Linked DNA regions of Homo sapiens: region 2 is linked to region 1. Evidence: promoter capture Hi-C in 16 types of primary human blood cells and fetal thymus (Javierre and others, 2016). All regions are on one chromosome and are shown on one strand. Each heading gives the region's core, a stretch centred on a gene start or on the middle of the fragment in contact. The rest is flanking DNA. Distances are from core to core; before and after follow the strand shown.

Evidence for each region. Contacts are between HindIII fragments. The CHiCAGO score rates a contact against its expected background, and 5 or more counts as called.
Region 2: a fragment that was not itself captured here is called in contact with the fragment with the promoter of ZSCAN25 in region 1 in 1 of 17 cell types (naive CD4 T cells); the score reaches 5.0 in naive CD4 T cells.

What each region holds. Positions count from the first base shown.
Region 1 is chr7:99,615,328-99,618,808 of GRCh38, forward strand. It overlaps ZSCAN25 (zinc finger and SCAN domain containing 25), which reads left to right and starts at 1,619. Exons shown (of 8, transcript NM_145115.3): 1 at 1,619-1,689; 2 at 3,198-3,324. RefSeq lists enhancers at 765-1,744, 1,335-1,654. The HindIII fragment of the contact is 2,601 bases long and covers 131-2,731 here.
Region 2 is chr7:99,561,663-99,565,143 of GRCh38, forward strand. All of the region lies in intron 2 of ZNF655 (zinc finger protein 655), which reads left to right. Among named protein-coding and RNA genes, the nearest start is that of ZNF655, 4.8 kb to the left of the region's middle. The HindIII fragment of the contact is 3,376 bases long and covers 2-3,377 here.

The DNA.
Region 1 (3,481 bases), core at 369-2,868:
GCTGTTAGGTACTGCTGGTGGAAGTGGCACCATCAAAAACAGTGGAAATAGCAGATCACAGAAAGATATCTGAGGGGACTTCAGATCTCAGAATTATCAGGCTCAACTATATTTACTATGTACAAAGAAAAGCTTAAACATATCGGTAAATTCTTTTAAAAGATCGATCTAGAATATTTGGAAAAAATCAAATAGAAATTCTAGAAATGGAAAAAATATATTAATTAAAACAAAAATATGGGTGGCCAAGTGGGGAGGATTGCTCGAGCCCAGGAGTTTAAGACTAGCCTGGGCAACATAGTGAGACCCTGTCCTTACAAAACATTTTTTAAAGATTAGCTGGGTGTGGTGGCTCATGCCTGTAGTCCCAGCTATTTGGGAAGCTGAGGTGGATTGCTTGAACCCAGGAGTTGGAAGCTGTAGTGAGCTATGATAGCACCGCTGTACTCCAGCCTAGGTGACACAGCAAGACCTCGTCTCTTAAAAAACAAAACAAAACAAAACAAAAAAACAACAACTGTGGATTTTGTAGCACATTAGAAACAGCTGAAAAGTGGATTATTAATAAAAAGGTGAAGACATAAACCCAAGTCAAATATGGGCAGACAAGAAAAATATGAAAGTGGGACAGAGACATGGAGGATAAAGTGAGATGGTCTAACACCTATGTTATATTCTAGGAGTTCATTTACTCTATAAGTGTATATTTTTAGCAAATATTGTACCAGACACTTTGCAAAGTGCTGGAGAAGAGTAAGACAAGAGGGTTTCCTGTTTCCTGAGTGGATTCTGGAGTAACACTGGGCCACCCAGTTGAGACAGACTGCCTTCAGGCTGGACGCGGTGGCTTGCGCCTGCAGTCCTAGCACTTTGGGAGGCCAAGGGGGGAAGATCGCTTGAGTCCAGAAGTTGGAGACCAGATTGGGCAACATAGAGAGATCCCCCTCTCTGCAAAAAATTGAAAAAAAGTCCCAGCTACCCAGGAGACTGAGGTGGGAGGATTGCTTGAACTCAGGGCTTCGAGGTTGCAGTGAGCTATGATCTCACCACTGCACTCCATCCTGGGAGACAGAACAAGACTTCTCTCTCTCTTTCTCAAAAAACACAAACAAACAAACAAACAAAAACCCCCCACAAAAAACAGCTCCGATGCTGGCTCCTCCAGGAAGCCTTCCCTGACTACACATACACACACGCACGCACACTACCCGGGGTCAGGAGCCTCTTAAGTGAGCCGGTTAGATCCAGTGCGCCCCCTATCTCCTCTGCCCCTACGCCTCGCGCAAGGCCCTCGCAGCCGGAATAGTCGCGCATTGACCGACTGGACTCTAAAGCCCCTTGGGGCAGGTGCTGTGTCCAGTAGTGTATCTGGCGATGCACCGAGTCCTTTCCACGGAGGGCAAGCAGGTGAAATGGCACGGAAGTGGAAGGGGCCTAGCCACAGAGCGCCTCGAGCTGGGCAGTCAATCCTGGGGAAGCCCTGGTGGTCTTCGCCTCGCCGGGTTCGGAACAGCAGGCTGGGATCAGCAACCATCGAGACGCATCCGCCGAGACCTCCGAGCATCCTAGAGAGGACACGGAAGCGAGTCTTTCCTTACGCACCTGTCTAACAGCGTCCGCAGCTCACTTCCGGACCGCGGATAGCACTGGCGACCCTAGCGGGTGAGAGGCCCTTCAGGGCCGCGGCGGGTGAGAGCCTCTTCAGGGCCGCAGCGGGTGGCGGGCGAAGTGGTAAACGGGCGCGGGGACGGGTTTTGGTGCCGCTACGGGGCTCGGCGGCAGCGGGGTTGCAGTAGAGCCCGTCTCCCTCCGCTCAGCCCCGGCTGAGGGCGGCAAGTCTCTCAGGAGCTGCCTTCAGCGGCCCCGAGGCCCTGCGGGTCTGGACGCTGAGGGGCCGCCGCGCTGTAGGCTCAGGTAGGAGCGAGGCTGATCCCGCTCTGCCAGGCTTGGCTTAGTGCAGGGCTGGCCACGAACCCGAAGAGATCTTGAACCAAAGCAGAACTCTGTGCAAAGTGAAAGTAATCACATAGGACACTTATTTAAAGAATAGTGATGAGCCAGCCTGGTCAACATAGCGAGACCCTGTCTCTACAAAAATTGAAAAGTAGCCGGGCGTGGTGGCACGCGCCTGAGGTCCCAGCTACTCGGGAGGCTGAGGCAGGAGGATCGCCTGAGCCCAGGAGTTCAAGGTTGCACTGACTTACATTCATGCCGCTGCACTCCAGCCTGGGCAACATGGGGAGACCCTGTCTCTACAAAAATAAATAATTAGCTGGTCATGGTGGCACTCGCCAGTAGTCCCAGCTACTCGGGAGGCTGAGGTGGGAGGATCGCTTGATCCTAGGAGGCAAAGGCTGCAGTGATCGCACCACTGGTCTCCAGCTGGGGTGATAAAACCCTGAGATCCTGTCTCAGAAACAAAACAAAAGAGTCACAATGGGTGGGGGGAGATAAAGAATAGCAATGGGGCAATTTCTATTTGTCAAATGGCAGAGATAAAAGATGAATGAGGATCTTTCTTGCCTCCAGGGAATCTGTTAGAGGGAGACACATGGGTAAACATTTGCACTGTAGTGCATTAAATGCACTAGTGGAGTGAACCAATGCAATAGCTAGAAAGGAATGAAAGAGAAATCTCAATGTTGCAGAGTCAATGAATAGACTGAAAATATAAACTTGGTTTAAGTGGGGGTAGATAAATACACAAACTCACAATAGAATATTTAGCAGAAGCTTTGGGGTGTGCCTCCTGCCAGCTGCCCATTCTCTGCTCCAGTCAGGTGATCTTTCCGTTTTCTGACAAGCAGGATCTCCTTCCCCTGGTGCTTTGGACTTCCAAGTCTGTCTTCCCAGTCTAGGTCTTCCGCATAATCCACTTGGAGGTAAATAGGACTCATTCTCCAGTCTACTTCAAGCCTCTTCTTTTCCTTGAGTACTTGGACTTAGATTAGTTTTCTCTCTTTTTGACTTCACATTTTTTTTTCAATCTGTACCATGTATTTTGGGAGGCAGTTATCATCTAGTCTCTTTTTTTTCTTCTGAGAAGTAGGAGGAGTAGCACTCATCCTACAGAAGTGTTTTAAGTATTAGATGAAATATGTGTTCACATGCTTTCTAAAGAGTAAAGCCTGTACAAGTTAGAAATCTTTAGGTCATTTGTCATAATGGTATATATGTTGCTCCATTGTCTTTTTCAGGTTGAGCGCACCATCACATCTAAGCCATCAGCAAGTTTGTTGGTTTTAATCTCCAAAATACGTCTTGATTTTGTCTGACTCTTTGCCACCACCCTGATCTAAGCCCTTATCATCTGCTTGAATCACTGTAAGTGCCATTTCCCTCTTGCCACCTCTAGCCTATTCCCTGTCAACACACAGGCAGAATGACTTTTATAAAACATGTAGTTCCTCGCTAAAGTAAGAAATAAGAATAAAGTTCATAATTCTTTCTGTGGCGCAGGCTCTGGGTGATCTGGTTTCTG
Region 2 (3,481 bases), core at 440-2,939, 54 kb before region 1:
AAGCTTTCCTAAGAAAATCCTGTATCACAGGTCAAAACACGCATAAGGCATGCAAGTACTGAGACGAAGCAGAGTAGACACACCCAATACCTGAAAAATGTTCATTGGTTTTACTAGAGTATTGAGGAGGGTCCTGCTGACACCCCTTGGGCTGGAGAGGCCTCCTCTGAAAGGGAGCCCTGGGAAAGGGCTGCTCTCACTCTTCACTCCTTTCTCCTCCCTCAGCTCCACCTGTTCCTCAGGTGCCTGCTCTTCCCCGTGAGGGAAGCCCAGGAGACCAGGCAGCTGCGCTCTTGACAGCCAGGTACCAGGTGAGCTGAGGAACCCTCTGCTTTTCCTCAGGGACTATTGCTACTGATGGAGTGTGGCCTCTCTCTCATCCCATCTGTAGACCTTGCCTGGAATTTTTTTCAATAGCAGACTCCAGTTTGGGAATTGATCCTCTTCGGAGACCTGGACTTCACATAAACCAACTTCCCATCTCCCCAGTGCCATGAGCAAACTCTGTTTTCTCTTTGTCCATGGTTGTGTGATGGGTGCTTATTAGATGTTTAAGGGTTATGGGCTTTATTCCGTAGGTTCTAATCTGTTCTCCCTCCTCCTCAACGTAAGTACACAGTGGATACCCTCTCTATGATCTTCATTCTCTGGCCATGGTGCTACAGTGTTCTCATTCCTCAGAGCAGCCAGGATGTGTTATTTCAGGAGTTTGTGACATTCGAGGATGTGGCTGTGCACCTTACTCGAGAGGAATGGGGATACCTGGACCCTGTTCAGAGGGACCTCTACAGAGAAGTGATGTTAGAGAATTATGGGAACGTGGTCTCACTGGGTAAGGACTTCCTTATTATTCGGTTTATCTATTTGAATTTCTTTACTTTCTTGTTTCTTCCTAAGTATAAGGTCTCTGAGAAGGTCTGTAGAGTGTGGCTTAGATTCCAGGACTTAGAACCTCTGAATCCTTATCTTTCACATCGTCTTCTCCGGGAGGGGTAATTAACGTTTGTTTGGGGGTGCCAAGAAGAGACATTCTCCTCCTTATCCCCAGTTCATGTTTATGGCCATTGTGGGGCATCTTTTCCCTTTTAGCAAAGGGAAACTTTCTTGTGCTTTGCTTGATTTCTCACCGTTCTTTTCTTTTCCATTTTTGTAGGAGAGACCCCAGGGTGGCCTCCCAACCTCCAACCAGACACTTTCCTCTTTGTTATCTCAGTGTCCCTGTATTAGAGAATTGAAGAATTTCCCATTTTTCTAGGAAAAAGAAATGCCGTTTATTTAAAAAGACAGGCTAAATTCCTTCTTGTTGAGTAGTCCCTCACCCCTTAAGATCCCCAGATGTATCTCCAAGCAGGCAGAACTTGAGATGTCATTTGAAGGCATGACTCACTGTGAGTACATTTCAGTGAGTCACCCAGAATGGTAATCCCACGTAACCACACCCAGGGCAGCAGAAATCTCAGATGTTTACCCCATGCTGAGGTGGGGTCAATGCTTAACTCATGTCTCTCCCTTGTCATTTTGAAAGGTACAGTGGGAAGCTGGGATTAGCCAAGCTGTAGTGCTGCTGGGAAGCATCAGTGGGGTTTGTCGGCAGCTCCCTTGGTGTGAGCATTGTTCCTTTTTCTTTAGTTTATTTTTTATATTATATTATATTTTTTATTTTATTTTATTTTTAGATGGAGTTTCACTCTTGTTGCCCAGGCTGGAGTGCAGTGGTGCAATCTCAACTCACTACAACCTCTGCCTTCCAGGTTCAAGCGATTCTCCTGCCTCAGCCTCCCAAGTAGCTGGGATTACAGGCATGGGCCACCACGCCCGCCTAATTTTGTATTTTTAGTAGAGACGGGGTTTCACCATGCTGGTCAGGCTGATCTCGAACTCTTGACCTCAAGTGATCCACCTTCCTTGGCCTCCCAAAGTGCTGGAATTACAGGCATGAGCCACCGCACCCAGCCTCCTTTTTCTTTAGTTTCTTGCTTGCTTCTGCACTCTTCTTTTTGTGTGTGTAAATACTGAATCATGCATTTTCTTTTCTTTTTTTTTTTTCCGTTGGCTTTGTCTATGCTGGTGGCATCCAGGGCATTGCTTTGTCTCCCTGATTATGCTCAGGATTCAAGGTCTTCTTATTTGTGGGGAGGCAGGCTGCCCACTGGGACGGTTTTTAGTGTGTTTTCCATTCCTGGCTCTTTAATCTTTGTAGGCATACTTCTCCGCCTTCCCACCACCCGGATTCATAGTGTGAATTCCTGCCCGGCCCTGAGTCATACCCAGGCAAGTGCTTTCTCTGGAGAAACACTTGCCGTCCTTACAGCAGGAATCTCCAAGAGATGGCCCAAGTATCGGCTTCCCATCGATATTGCTCGTCCCTGCTCGGAAACTCCTTTTCCACGATTGTGAGATATTAAAATTGACTGATGGAATAGAAGCTCCCCAGGATGCCACCACTGTGTAAAATCGCAGCTCCTCAAATTACCTCTGTTTAATTTCAAATGTTAGGGTCCAAGGAAGCCCTCTGTTGCAACCAGATATGTTTTGAACCCAGTTCATTCAGAAACCATGGTTGGTGGTCATCATCTACTTGTATTGTGAAAAACCAGAAATTCCAAATTCAGCTCTTCAGTTATGGTCTTTTCATATTATTTTAGAATGTGAAACTTATGCTGTGTGCCCCTCCTTTTATGTGGCGAACACAACCTGCCCCGTATGGTGCCTAACTCTCCTGTGAACCCTGGGCTTCCCTCATGTTTAACATTCTGGTTTCCTCCTTCCTTGAAGTCCCTGTGGCCCTCTTCAAGGTCCTACCTTCCTACCCTTTATTCTTTGTGGTTCTGTACAGATTGATGCAATTATATTGCCTTTCCTGATTAAGTGTTCCTTACTCTGTCCTTGATGGAGGGGAGAAGGGAGGGCAAAGAAGTTAAATTTATTTCAGGGCATCAAATTGAATATCTACTTAATAACTTTGTAAACTGTAAAGTGACATACATATAATTGTAAAGTACTGTTAATTTTATCTAATAATTACAGAGTTTCCAACAGTTAACCTGTCTACTTTTTGGAGTAAAGAAACTTTGTAGCAGTTTAATGCAGTCTAATAGCATAGTATGCTATAGACTGAACTTTATCCCATTTCCTCTCTTATCTCTGCACTGCACACTCGACATGCAGTCGACATGCATACACACTTTTACACATACAAGAGACACGCACAGTGCAAGAAAGCCTTCTACTCATCTTGCTTTTGTGATCAAGTTAGCAGCATCTCCTTAGCAGTTATTTTTACAATCCTTGGGAAATCATTTTCATATTTTTGGGTTCAGCAGACTTCATCTGAAAATTAACCCATTTATGCCTAGTGTTCCATTATTGGAACACTAAGCTTGCGGGAATTATTTATGTCCCGCTGCTCAAGGTCATCGCCAAGGTCTGATTTTTAACAAAAATTGCAACCTCCAGCATAACTGGGTTAAGTTTATACATT